Linked DNA regions of Homo sapiens: region 2 is linked to region 1. The links are contacts of gene promoters, found by promoter capture Hi-C in human tissues and cell types (Jung and others, 2019). All regions are on one chromosome and are shown on one strand. Each heading gives the region's core, a stretch centred on a gene start or on the middle of the fragment in contact. The rest is flanking DNA. Distances are from core to core; before and after follow the strand shown. Region 1 holds the start of TNPO3 (transportin 3). Region 2 has its middle 7.2 kb from the start of HILPDA.

Region 1 (7,031 bases), core at 2,235-4,734:
ATTCTATGTTTAACATTTTTTTGAAGAGCTGCCAAACTTTTTCAACATGGCCGCACCATGATACAATCCCATGAATAGTGCATGAGAGTTCTGATTTGTCCACATTCTCACCAGCATTTATCATTTTTTAAATTTTAGTTTTTCTAGTGGGTGTGAAGTTGTATCTCATTGCAGTTTTGATTTGTATTTCCCTGAGGGCTAATGATGAGCATCTTTTCATGTGCATTTGTATATCTTCTTGGAAGAAATGTCTATTCAAATTCACTGCCCATTTAAAAAACTGAATTATCTGAGGCCAGACATGGTGGCTTACGCCTGTAATTCCAGCACTTTGAAAGGCTGAGGCGGGTGGATCACTTGAGGTCAGGAGTTCGAGACCAACCTGGCCAACGTGGTGAAGCCCTGTTTCTACTAAAAATACAAAAATCAGCCAGGCATGGTTGTGGGCACCTGTAATCCCAACTACGTGGGAGGATGAGGTACAAGAATCGCTTGAACCCAGGAGGTGGAGGTTTCAGTGAGCTGAGATTGTGCCATTGTACTCTAGCCTGGGCAACAGAGCAAGACTCCAACTCAAAACAAAAAAACAAAACACACACACACACACACACACACACAAAACAAACCCAAAAACTGAGTTGTCTTTTCATTGTTGAATTGTAAGAGTTCTTTATATACTCTGGATACTAATCAGTTATCAGATATGTTATTTGCACATTCCCTTCCATGTTGTGGACTGTTACTTCACTTTCTTGATAGTGTCCTTTGATACACACAAAAAAATTTGTTTTGAGATATGGTCTCACTGTTTCCCAGGCTGGAGTGCAGTGGCACAATCTCTGCTCACTGCAACCCCCACCTCCTGGGCTAAAGCAATACTCCCACCTCAGCCTCCTGAGTAGCTGGGATTAGAAGCACCCACCACCATGCCCTGCTAATTTTTTTGCATTTTTTTTTGTAGAGATGGAGTCTCATTTCATTACCCAGGATGGTCTTGAACTCCTGGCCTCAAAGGTAATCCTCTTGCCTCGGCCTCCCAAAATGCCGGGATTACACAGTTGTGAGCCACCAAGCCCAGCACTAAATTTTTTTTTAATGAATGAATGGATTAGGTAACCAAAATATCAAGTTTCTTTTTTCTGTCTAAAATTGTATCAACTCTGTGCAGTAACATTGTTTTCATCATGTTGTTGGCAGTTAAAAATTCCTTGACTAACAATTCAGAAGCAAACGAATGCACAAGATGATAGGGATTGTGTGATTTAACAGGTTTTGGAGCAACACTGATCTGGATTCAAATCCTAACTTTAAGAACTGTATCCTTGGGCAAATTACATTACTATTTTTCTTTCTTTAAAATGCGTTTTTTTGTTTGTTTTTTAAGTGCCAGGGGTTTATTTCCCTCACATGTGGGATGGCTCACATACACAACACACAAAGGCGTTGGCACCGTGGGAGAGGGCAGCACCCCTGGCTTCTGCTTGGCCTCACAGTGTAAGAAGGGAGAGGATGGGTTCTCTCTCCTCCCCTCACTAGGGCCTAGGGGACCCAGGAGCAAATTCCATCCCTTTCACCTCTCAGCCAAGGAGAAGCCACATTGGTGACATTTAGTTCCAACAATTACAGTAAGTGGAGAAGGGATTGGTCTGGTCCCGACCATTACACGGTGAAGGTATACATAGTAAAGGAAGATACAGTTTGGATGAGGCCACAATAGGGTGCAGATGACACCATCAGAAGCATGTGCAGGGGAGGGGCAGTCACTCAGCTTCTGGGCTGCTTAGTTCCTGGGTTGGCAGGAAGGGTAGGGAAGACGGATGGGGCTCATTGTTTGGCATTGATGATGTCTACGAATTCGGGCTTGAGGGAAACACCACTCATGAGGAAGGCAGCCACGTCAGGCTGGCTGGCCAGCTCCTTGCAGGTTGCCTTGGTCACAGAGCCTCCATAAATGATACCAGTGCTCTGAGCCACTGCATCAGAGATGTTGGACTTAAGCCATCCTCGGAGCTTCTTGTGTACCTCCTGGGCCTGTTGGGGTGTTGCAGTCTTGCCAGTACCAGTGGCCCACACGGGATCATAGGCCAAGATGACCTTGCTCCAGTCCTTCACATTATCTGCGATGACCTTTGTCTGCTCAAAAACAACCTTCTCAGTGATGCCAGCTTCCCTTTCATCTAGCTTCTCCCCAATGCAGGCGATTACTCCGAGTCTCTCTGCCAGAGCATGGGCCACTTTTCTGCCCAATCAGCTCATCTGACTCCCCAAAGACACGCCTTCTGAGTGCCCCAGGACCACACCACCCACGTGACTCCTAAGTCTTTGACCATGCCAGGGCTGATCTCCCCAGTAAAGGCCCCATTAGTCACTTTGTAGCAGTTCTGCGGAGCCACAGCAATCTTGGGAGCTAGCTTCTGCCGGGCCAACTCGTTATACGCAGTGGCGAGAGCACAAATCACCTTGGTGTCGGCAGGCACAGTGGCCGCGTTCTGAGTGCCGATGAGCTCCCCCAGACATTTCTTCCGCCCGTTCATCTTCCAGTTCCTCCCCACGAAGAACTTCCTGGAGGGCGCCATGGCGCTGGAGCTGAGGCGCTGTAGGTCAGTGTCAGCGCCTAAAACGGGTTTTATTAATACTTGGCAAGGTTGTTAGGCGGATTAAATGAGATCTTGTAACTACAGTGTTTTACACATTGTGATCATTTATCAAATAGCAGTTATTTACTAGTGCAAAGGACTAGCAGCAATGTTAATATCAATATACTGTTACCTTTTGTCCCTAATTTCTCCATAGTACAGTTTCCAATATTTCTGTTTTCTTTTGTGAATTGTTAGACCACTGGTATTGGATTCGGACAGAAAGGCATTCACAAAAATACAGTTCAATGTGAGAATAACCCTAAAGATGTATGCAAAATGCTCTGGAGTTAGAGCACCAGGAGCTGTAAGCAGAATGAAGACCTCTTTTGGGCTTAAGAACTAAGTAAAGGGGAGCTGAACAAAGATTCTAGGCATTTTGGATTTATCTCAATGTGGCACATATTTCAGGTTTGTAAAATAGTTCAGTTGACTACGTGTCTGTCTCCTCCACTAGAGCCAGCGTAGGTACCATGTCTTAAGTCATCTTTGGATCTCCAGTACTGTGGCCACTCTAGGGAGAGTTGAATTGACGCGCCTTGATCACCAGGGCAGAAAAGGATTCTCTGGAGAGGGATGGGGCAGTCGGAAGGGGTAGGAAAAACCTGGATCCGTTTCCAAGGAGCTGAAGGCAGCTCAGATATGGGGCACATCTCGGCGCTAATGTCCCAAGCTGCTAGCGAGGAACAGAGAGAACACCGGCTCTTCTTCCCGGCTCCTGGCCCGGCAGGGTTACTTCCGGGAGGGGGCGGGGAGACAAGAGGAGGCGTGCCGGGAAGGAGGCCGTTTGTAGTGTACCAGGCGGAAGTGTGCCAAAGGTATCGGTGCTGTCGCTTCCGGTCCGGGTAAACGAACCTTAGGTACACTGGTGTGTGGCCTCCCAAGATAGGCTTCTGAGGGCAAGTCAGCGACTGAAGACGGGAGCGCCAGAATCTGTGGACTCAAGAGTCTAGAATCAAGTGGAAAAACCGGAAAAAAGGCCAGGAACCTGAATACGACCTAATAGCTGTTTCCGAGGGGGCAACTTCCACGGAGAGCCTTCTGCCCTGGTAACGGCCAAAGAGGAGGAGATGGCGCCAGTCAGGGAGCGGCCGTGGCCCAGACAGTGAGGAAGCGCGAAGGCGGAGCAACCGAGGAATCCTCCGGAGAAGAATCAGAGCCGTCGCTACCGCCACTACCGCCACCACCATGGAAGGAGCAAAGCCGACATTGCAGCTCGTGTACCAGGCAGTGCAGGCGCTTTACCACGACCCAGATCCCAGCGGAAAGGAGCGCGCCTCTTTTTGGCTTGGGGAGCTGCAGCGTTCGGTGAGGGGCCCAGAGAGGCAGTTCTGTGCCGCACGGCCGGGGCGGGGTGGAACCTAGGCTCCGGGGGAGAACCTGAGCCCGGCAGTTGACCTCGTGAGGTCCTCCTTGGGGAGGAGCTGCTGTCGTGGGGTGGGGCTGCGAAGCTACATCTTTGCCGCTTTTGGGAAACTAGTCGCACCTGATCGGTCGCGAACTGGCCCTTTCCCCACCCGGCAGAATCTGATTTGTAGGTCTTATACTCTTCGATTGTGGCATCAATCTAATCTTGTTTAAGTTCTCCCTTTGCCGTTGCTTCTTGGGCCGTGCTTTTCCGTTTTGTCTTCCTCCCACCAAATCCAACCCCAGTGTTTCTCCACCTTCCGCTTAAGAAGGCTTTATTCGTCTCCCCTCCGTGTCCAAGACTTGCATCTGGCATTTTGCTCCCAGTCGTAGCCTTATGCCTCACTCTTTTTGCCTATTTTCACTCCAGTTTGAGTCTGTTCTTCTCGAAACTTCTCAGGTTTCTAGATTCTTACTCATGCGAGTTTTCCCCTTGCTTTGGAGTGGCAACATAATATGAAGAAAAAACAGTAATTCTGCTTTCAGAAAATCTTTGGAGTTCTCATTTTGTTTCATATTAATCCTCTAACCTTGTTATTTCTCTGGCTTTTAGATTTTTATTTATAAGATGGGTATCACTGCTGCTTTGATTATTCCATATAAAACTGTGTGTGCATCCGGTGAGATATTTAATTGTAGCTTATATCTGTTGTATTTCTGCATTCTTTGATTCATGTTTTATGCTTCCTGCCCTAATTTTCACACCTTTGCTGTGCTTCATTTCTGTGTAAATGTGTATTCTTGGTTATCTGGCTGACTTAGGTTCTAATGTAGGATGTACTTTAAAAATTAAGTACTTTGAAAACTAAAGAGGCTTTTTTTACAGGCTGACAAAATACTCACCTTTACCTTTATTTTTGCATTTTATACTCACAACCATATTTTTTTTGGCCCCCTTCCCTTTATTTTAACTCATAACTGATACTTAAAGGTGCTCTGCCTTATTAAATCAGCTCCTAGGCTGCAAGTGCATAATATTTAAAAATTTGCAACTTTGACTTTTTAAAAATCTGGTCTTGGTATGGAGCAACTTTGCCTTTTTTTTTTTTTTTTTTTTGAGACAGAGTCTCGCTTTGTCGCCCAGGCTGGAGTGCAGTGGTCCCATCTCAGCTCACTGCAACCTCCTCCTCCCGGGTTCAAGAGATTCTCCTGCCTCAGCCTCCCGAGTAGCTGGGATTACAGGTGCCTGCCCTGACACCCGACTAATTTTTTTTTTTTTTTCTTGAGACAGAGTCTGGCTCTGTTGCCCAGGCTGGAGGAGTGCAGTGGTGCTATCTCGGCACACTGCAACCTCCTCCTCCCAGGTTCAAGTGATTCTCCTGTCTCAGCCTCCTGAGTAGCTGGGATTACAGGCACACGCCACCACACCCAGCTAATTTTTGTATTTTTTAGTAGAAACGGGGTTTCGCCATGTTGGCCAGGCTGGTCTCTAACTCCGACCTCAGGTGATCCGCCCGCCTCGGCCTCCCAAAGTGCTGGGATTATAGATGTGAGCCATCGCCCCCCGCTGCAACTTTGACTTTGAATATTAAACCTAAAAAACTGGCACCCAAGTCCTCTTCAGAAAATAAAGGAATACGACTCACTGTAGGCTACACAAGAAAATCATTCACATATGGTCTCATTTAGTGTTTCTGTGATCTCTGGAGAGTCAACAATTCCCTGATCTTTGTATAGTTTTCTAAAGTGTAATTAGGAGAAGTGCTACACTATACTAAAAAAGTAATCTCTTTCTAATTAAACCTGCTTGTTGTGTGTATTTTAAATCAATATTTGAGTGCTTACCATGTGCCAGCAACTATGCTGGGTGTTTGGATTTGGAAATGAACCAGACAAAAATCTCTGCTTACCACAGAAGGTAGTTGTGATTAAATGAGTTAATATTCTACGAAGAGGTTAGAAAAGTTCTTGGAACATAGAGATTAAAATGTTAGCAATTGTTATTTAAGTATTAGTCACTTTTCTCTCCTTACTTTCCAATACTCTATTACAACCTTACATCATCTTCACCATCACAGTTAATAGTCAGAGTCCAGACAGGAACAGATGGCACACTTGACAGGATAATCTGAGTTTATTTTATAAAGATACTATTATAAAGATTTAGGTATAGTGGTGTGACAAGAAATAGTTTGGTAACCTATAGCTGAACGGTTAACATCCCATAAAAGAGGGAATAGTTACTTGAAAAGTATGGAGTTGGCTGCCTTGAGAGGAATGGTGACTTTCAGCCGAAGGGACATAGCTAGTTTCAGGTGACCTTGAGAGAATGAAGCTGGAGGAATGAATATCCTGACCCTGTTCTCTTAATTTCTTGCTGGGATTCCCCATTGGCCAAACCCAACCGGAAGCCAGGGGCACAGTGACCTGTTGGTAAAGTCTATACAGGTCAGCCTATTGGAGCAGAAAACATGATAGAGGAGGGTGGAAAAGTGGATCTGGAAAATATCCAGCAGTAACACATCACGTTTAGGCAACTTCAGCATCTGGATTGACAGTTCAGCTAACACTTTGGCCTTCTGATTCCTTTACCTCTTCATTCTCTTTAGCCACCTGGTCACACAATCACACCCTGGATCTTGTCTTTACTAAAAAGCCACCACCCAGGCTGGGCGTGCAGTGGCTCACGCCTGTAATCCCAACACTTTGGGAGGCTGAGGCGGGCGGATCGCTTGAGGTCAGGGGTTTGAGACCAGCCTGGCCAACATGGTGAAAACCCGTTTCTACTAAAAATACAAAAATTAGCTGGGCGTGGTGGTGCGCACCTGTAGTCTCTGCTACTCAGGAGGCTGAGGCAGGAGAATCTCTTGAACCCAGGAGGTGGAGGTTGCAGTGAGCTGATATTGTGTCACTGCACTCCAGCCTGGGCGACAGAGCGCGACTCCATTTCAAAAAAAACAAAAAAGTTGCCAGCCAGGCCAGGCCCATTGGCTCTTGCCTGTAATCCCAGCACTTTGGGAGTCCAAGGTGGAGGATCCCTTGAGCCCA
Region 2 (6,857 bases), core at 1,639-4,138, 610 kb after region 1:
TTCTGAAGTCAACCCACACAAGAGTACCATACTAAGAACACAAGTATTTTCACAAATTTGATCTTATCATCAAGTGTTCATTTAAATAACATGTACTTACATTTCTGGTAAGTATAAACTGGTACATTCAGTATGGAAATCAATTTGTCAGTAATTGTTACCCTGACCCCCACTTGTTTTTTAAACACCTCAAGACCATTGAGGTGTTAAAAAAGACCACTGACTACCATTTGGCAATGTCTATAAAAATAAAAGCATACACATGCCCTTTAGCCCAGAATTCCACTTTTAGGATTTATCCTTCCACATGTAGAGAATGGAGTGTTTAAAGGTAGCACTGTTGCAGCACTGTTTGTGATAATGAAAGACTGGAAAAAACAGCCCATCAGTAGAGAACTGGTTAAATAAAAGATGGTGCATTCAGACAGTGAATTACCATAAAGCCAGAAAAAAGAGAGTAAGTTCTGTATATATCGACAAGATCTCCACAATATATTGTTAAATGAAAAGGGTTTATAGTATGTGAGCAGTATGCTACATTTATGTTAAAATGAACATAAAAAATAGAATACAATGAGACACCACCTCACACTCACTAGGATGGCTATAACACAAACAAGCAAAAAAACCCAGAAAAGAACAAATGTTGATGAAAATGTAGAAAAAACAGAACCCTCATACATTGCTGTTAGAATGTAAAATAGTGCAGCTGCTTTAGAATAGTTCCTCAAAAAGTTAAACATAGAGTTACTGTATGATCCAGCAGTTTAGCTCCTAAATATATACCCAAGTGAACCGAAGATGTATGTTCACACACAAACGCTTATACACAAATGTTCATAGCAGCATTATTCATAATAGCCAAAAAAGTAGAAACAACCCAAATGTCCGTCAACTGGCTAAAGGATAAACAAAATGTGATACAATGGAATATTATTCAGCCATAAAAAATGAAGTATTGATACATGCTACAATATGGATGCACCTTGAACACATTATGCTAAGTGAAAGAAACCAGAAACAAAAGGGTACATATCGTATGATTCCATTTATATGAAATGTCAGAATAGGCAAATCCAGGGCTGGGCGTAGTGGCTCCCACCTGTAAGCCCAGCACTTTGAGGATCCCAGCACAGAGACCAAGGTGGGCAGATCACTGGAGGTCAGGAGTTTGAGACCAGCCTGGCCAACATGGTGAAACCCTGTCTCTACCAAAAAGACAAAATTAGCCAGGCATGGTGGTGCTGACCTGTAGTCCCACCTACCTGGGAGGCTGAGACAGGAAAATCGCTTGAACCCAGGAGGCAGAGGTTGCAGTGAGCCGAGATCACACCACTGCACTCCAGCCTGGGCAACAGAGCAAGACTGTCTCAAAAAAAAAAAAAAGGCAAATCCACAGAGACAGAAAGTAGGTAAGTGGTTGCCAAGGGCTGGAGGAGAGGGGACTGGGGAATGACTGCTAGTGGGTACAGGGTGGTTTTTTTTTTGGTGTGTGGGCTGGTGATGAAATGTTCTAAAATTAGTGCTGACAGTTATACAAGTCTATGAATGTACTTAACCATTGAATTGTATCCTTTAAAACGGTGGATTTTGATATGTGAACTATATCTGAATAAAGTCATTATTTTCTTTAAAGGAGGGCAAGTTGAAGACATCGTCAGATGACAAACAAAAACAGAGTTAGCTGCCGTAGGCCCTTACCGTGGAAACTACTGAAGAATGAACCTAAGACACAAGAAAACTGAACCCAAAAGGAAATAGGGAAATGCAAGAAAAAATGGTAAGGAAATATTTACAAAACATATGGATGTATCTAAACAAATTATGACTACTCAAAACTATTTTTAGTAATAATGGTTGATTTAGAAAAGTAAAAATAACAAGATAAACTGAAAAATTGGTAAACATTTCAGATGGGAACAGTGAGCAAAGATGAAGTTTAATATGTTTTTATTTGGGAGGAAAGTAAATATTGATTAATGTTAGACTTTTTTTTTTTTTTTGAGACAGAGTCTTGGTCTTGTCACCCAGGCTGGAGTGCAATGGTGCAATCTCGGTTCACTGCAACCTTCGCCTCCCAGGTTCAAGTGATTCTCCTGCCTCAGCCTCCCGAGTAGCTGGGATTACAGGCACCCACCACCATGCCCAGCTAATTTTTGTATTCTTAGTAGAGACATTTCACTATGTTGGCCAGGCTGGTCTCAAACTCCTGACCTCAAGTGATCCACCTGCCTCAGCCTCACAAAGTGCTGGGATTACAGGTGTAAGCCACCACACCCAGCCAATTTTAGACTTTTTAAGTCTGTATATTAAAATGTTAAGAGTTGGTTGGGCGCGGTGGCTCATGCCTATAATCCTGGAACTTTGGTAGGCCAAGGCAGGTGGATCAGTTGAGGTCAGGAATTCAAGACCAACCTTATTAAATAAATAAATATATTTATATTTATTATTTATTTTTATCTTTTTGAGACAGTCTCACTCTGTCACCCAGGCTGGAGTGCAGTGGTGCGATCTCAGCTCATTGCAACCTCCACCTCCCGGGTTCAAGCGATTCTCCTGCCTCAGCCTCCCGAGTAGCTGAACTACAGGTGCCAGCCACCACACCTAGCTAATTTTTGTACTTTTTTTTAGTAGAGATGGGGTTTCACCATGTTGGCCAGGCTGGTCTCGAACTCCTGACCTCAGGTGATCCACCTGCCTCAGCCTCCCAAAGTGCTGGGATTACAGGCATGAGCCACCGCACCCGCCAAAAAAAATTAAAATGTTAAGGGTAGCTCTTCCTCTTCCTTCTCTTCCTGTACAATTCAGTCTTCAGGCCATTAGGTAAAATAGTACAAGGTGTCTACAATGAAGAGGAGGGCCGGTGGCCCAGAGTGGAATGTCACTTTTATTCACTATTATGTCCTCAGTGTCTGAAACATGTTCACTCAATATTTGGCTCACTGTGTCACTTCCTTCTGGACCCTGATCAAATGTCATTTCTCAGGGAGGCTTTCCCAATCATTTCATGTACAGTAACACTCACCACCTACTCTTCTCCTTTACCCTGTTTTATTTTTTCTTCATAGTACTCAACACCAACAAACCTGTTTTATATTTATTTGTTGATTATCTATCTTCCTCCGCTAGAATGTAGCTCCTTGAGAACAAGGACTCGGACTATTGTGTCAATTATTATGTTCCTAAACCCAGAATAGTGCCTTCCATGTGGTATATGCTCAACAAATATTTGTCGAATGAACGAATCATGTTTATGTATCTGAGATATTTTATAACTGAAAGGAAACACACCAAGCATGGTGGCTGACGCCTGTAATATCAGCACTTTGGGAAGCTGATGTGGGAGCATTGCTTGAGCCCAAGAGTTCAAGACCAGCCTAGGCAACATGACAAGACCCCGTCTCTAAAAAAATTAATAATAATTATGACAGAGCAGCTGATCAATTTCTAATTCTATTTATTGATGTTTGTTGCACAGCATTTTTACAGTGATCATCTCTGGGTGATATAATGAACTCCTTTTTTCCTCCTATTTTCTCCCATGTGCATCTGTTACTTTTACGATCAGAGAAAAAAATTAAAATTTACTAACATTTTGTAAATTTACAGCTTGAGCAACATTGTGACAATGAAGGGAAAACAAACACAGGAGTTTGGATGGGGAAATTGGGTCAAAAGCTTGGAGCAGCTAGTGGGAGGCGGGAGTGGAGTGGGAGGGCCTGGCAGTATGGCACCAGAGGAAGGTGCCCACAGAGAGTTGGCCCTGGAAGTTGGGCAGAGGGCACCCAAGGCAAGCAGTGGCTTCTTCACCTCGCACCTGAGCCAGCAACCTAAATTCTGAGTCTGGTTGTGGTACTAACTAACCACTCACCTGGGGCCAGCCACTTCTTCAGGCCTCAGTTTCCTCATCTGTGAAGCTCAGGTCTGAGGGAGACAAGCTGTCTCTCTCAGAGCCTTTCTACCTAAGAGGTGTGTGGTCCTAGAACCTGCACTGAGAAGCTGTGGTGTGGGTGGGGGACTCCCACTGACACAGCAGGCCTCTGCTCTCAAGCTCTGTCTGCGAAATACTGGATGAACAGTGTAGAATAGGAGAAAAACAGTATTCAAAACTATATGGGCTCTCTAAGTTATCCATGATAAATGCATAGAGAGAGAGAGAGAGAGAGAGAGAGAGACTGACAGTGTATCTACTCTTAAATAGTAACATTTTTCACTGGGCAGGGTCCTCTTATTCATTAGTCACAATAAGCACAGTTCCTGGGGCCTATAGACTTTTCAGGGACTCTCAAACATATTTGAGATATAGAAAACAAAATATATTGGCTTCAAAAAATTTTAAATGACAGAACTAAAATTCATAAACATTTAATCAAAGGTCTGCAAAATATATGTTAACTAGACAGTTTCCTTCTTTTCTTTTCTTTTTTTTTTTTGAGATGGAGTTTCGCTCTGTCACCCAGGCTGGAGGGCAGTGGCATGATCTCGGCTCACTGCAACCTCTGCCTCCCAGGTTTAAGCAATTCTCCTGCCTCAGCCTCTTGAGTAGCTGGGATTACAGCTGCCTGTCACCACGTCTGGCTAATTTTTTTGTATTTTTAGTAGAGATGGGGTTTCTCCATGTTGGCCAGGCTGGTTTTGAACTCCTGGCCTCAAGTGATCCACCCACCTCAGCCTCCCAAAGTGCAAGGATTACAGGCATGAGCCACTGTGCCTGGCCAACTAGACAGTTTCAACTCAGCACAGTAACTTCAGATGTGAGATGTGGGTGCATTTTAACATGATGGGGCATCCCATAGCAGGCATATCTGAGGCCTGTGGAAGTAAAGTGAGGATGGGGTGGATTATGGAGGTTTTATAGTTTCTTGAGTTTCAATTTTTCTACTATGAGCATGTATTATAAGAAGAAGAAAAAGTATTGTGAATGTTTTGAAAAAGTCTGTAAATAAAACCTTAGGAAAGATTTGGGGTGAAGAAGTCCCTACTTTCTCATCTCAGTAAAGGCTTGGGGACAGTCCTCTGTCTTATGGAGGTAATTAGAATCAAAAAGGAAACTCACTGGAAACATGTATTTAAGAGTTTACTCATTCTATGCTGTTTTCCAAGTTATTTCCATCCAGCAGTTTAGGATAAATCTGTGTATTGACATGTTGCTCTCTCTTTCCTTCATGGAACCATAAAATCATTGAATGTTAGAACATAGCGGGAGCCTTCCTCCTTGCTGTCACCTTCTCTTGGTGGTCACAGTGGGCTCTATGAGCATGGGAGAGCCCAGGTTAGCTGCAAAAGGGCCAGGCCTCAAATGAGCTCCGTTGCTGCCTGGTAGATGGTCGAGGTGCTACCAGAGGAGATGGGTGTCTTGCTCCAGGCAGGGAGGCAGAGTCTGAGTCTCTGGGTTGGGAGACAACGGGGTTCTCCTGGTGTCTGTGCTGTTGTCATTCACAATGACAACAGCTGCTCTTCCCTCTGCTGCATGTGTTCACACACACATGCCCTACCTTTACACACGTGTGTGTGCACATGGGCACATTTTCTCTCTGCCTAGACAGCTGGCACCTCTCCCCCAGACACAGATGCCCAGACATTTCTGCTGCCAGCCAACTCACTCCGTGGCTCTGTTCCAACTCGGCTAGAGCAGGGCAGGGGGCTGTTCCTGCTGTCTCTTATCTTAGCCAAGAAGGACAGTGGCTGCTGTCAGGAGAGGGGGTAATGAGGGGTAGAGGACAACTGGTCTTTGAGGAGACTCCCACCGTTTTTTCCTTCTCCCAGTGATCCTTCCTCCTTTGGCTAAAGGACTGGAGAAAAAGCTGTCCAGTCAGAATCCCTCCTGTCAACGATGAAGGCCCAAAGCCCTACCCACACCGAACCCCTCAGCCCCTCGCCTGACAAATACTCAAAGTCAGCTAAAACTATTGGTGTCTCAGGCTCCCAGCTCTCCCATTTGACCCTGGAAACCTCCCCAGTCCCCCATCCTGGGTTCTTTTGCATGTTGGAGTATCGCTTGCTGATACGGCGTTCGATGTTTATACCTCTCAGTTGATAAGCATGTTCCGTCTAGAGAACGTCTTGTATATTATTCTTAAAAGTTCTTACCAGGGACTCCAAAGGGTGTCCCTTTTGAAAAACTACTCACTGAGTGCAGTGTTCACTGTTCGGGTGATGGGTTCACTGGAAGCCCATTATGCAATATACTCATGTAACAAATTTGCACATGTACCCACTGAATCCAAAATAATTTTTTTTTTTGAGACAGAGTTTTGCTTTGTCACCCAGGTTGGAGTGCAGTGGTGTGATCTTGGCTCACTGCAACCTCTGCCTCCTGAGTTCTAGTGATTCTCCTGCCTCAGCCTCCTGAGTAGCTGGGATTACAGGCACCTGCCACCATGCCTGGCTGATTTTTATATTTTTAGTAGAGACAGGGTTTCGCCATGTTGGCCAGGCTGATCTCAAACTCCTGACCTCAAGTGATCCACCCGCCTTGGCCTCCCAAAGTGTTGGGATTACAGGTGTGAGCCACTGCGCCCGGCCAGAATAAAATTTTAAAAATGTATTGTAAGCATCATCCTTATTCATCGCTCTGTTAATTAGTTATCTCCTGTAACTTTGAGAGGGTTGTTTTAAGATTTAAAAATATATTTGCTTCTCAGTCTGTGCCTTGTGCAAACCAGATGCTCAGTTGTTATCAGTGGACCAATCTTTATCACTCACATGCACTAAAGATCAGTAAACCAGGCTGGGTGCAGTGGCTCACGCCTGTAATCTCAGCACTTTGGGAGGCCAAGGCAGGTGGATTACCTGAGGTCAGGAGCTTGAGACCAGCCTGGCCAACATAGTGAAACCCTATCTCTACTAAAAATACA

What was found. Contacts are between HindIII fragments. The study calls those that stand out against the background at their distance.
Region 2: a contact is called between a fragment that was not itself captured here and the fragment with the promoter of TNPO3 in region 1, in 1 of the 25 tissues and cell types used here (lymphoblastoid cells).

What each region holds. Positions count from the first base shown.
Region 1 is chr7:129,051,564-129,058,594 of GRCh38, reverse strand. TNPO3 (transportin 3) reads left to right here and starts at 3,484. Exons shown (of 23, transcript NM_012470.4): 1 at 3,484-3,944. The coding sequence starts at 3,825. It also overlaps the pseudogene TPI1P2. RefSeq lists a silencer at 2,346-2,640 and enhancers at 2,346-2,640, 3,452-3,951. The HindIII fragment of the contact is 20,371 bases long and covers 1-7,031 here.
Region 2 is chr7:128,445,225-128,452,081 of GRCh38, reverse strand. No RefSeq gene overlaps it. Among named protein-coding and RNA genes, the nearest start is that of HILPDA, 7.2 kb to the left of the region's middle. The HindIII fragment of the contact is 7,397 bases long and covers 1-6,586 here.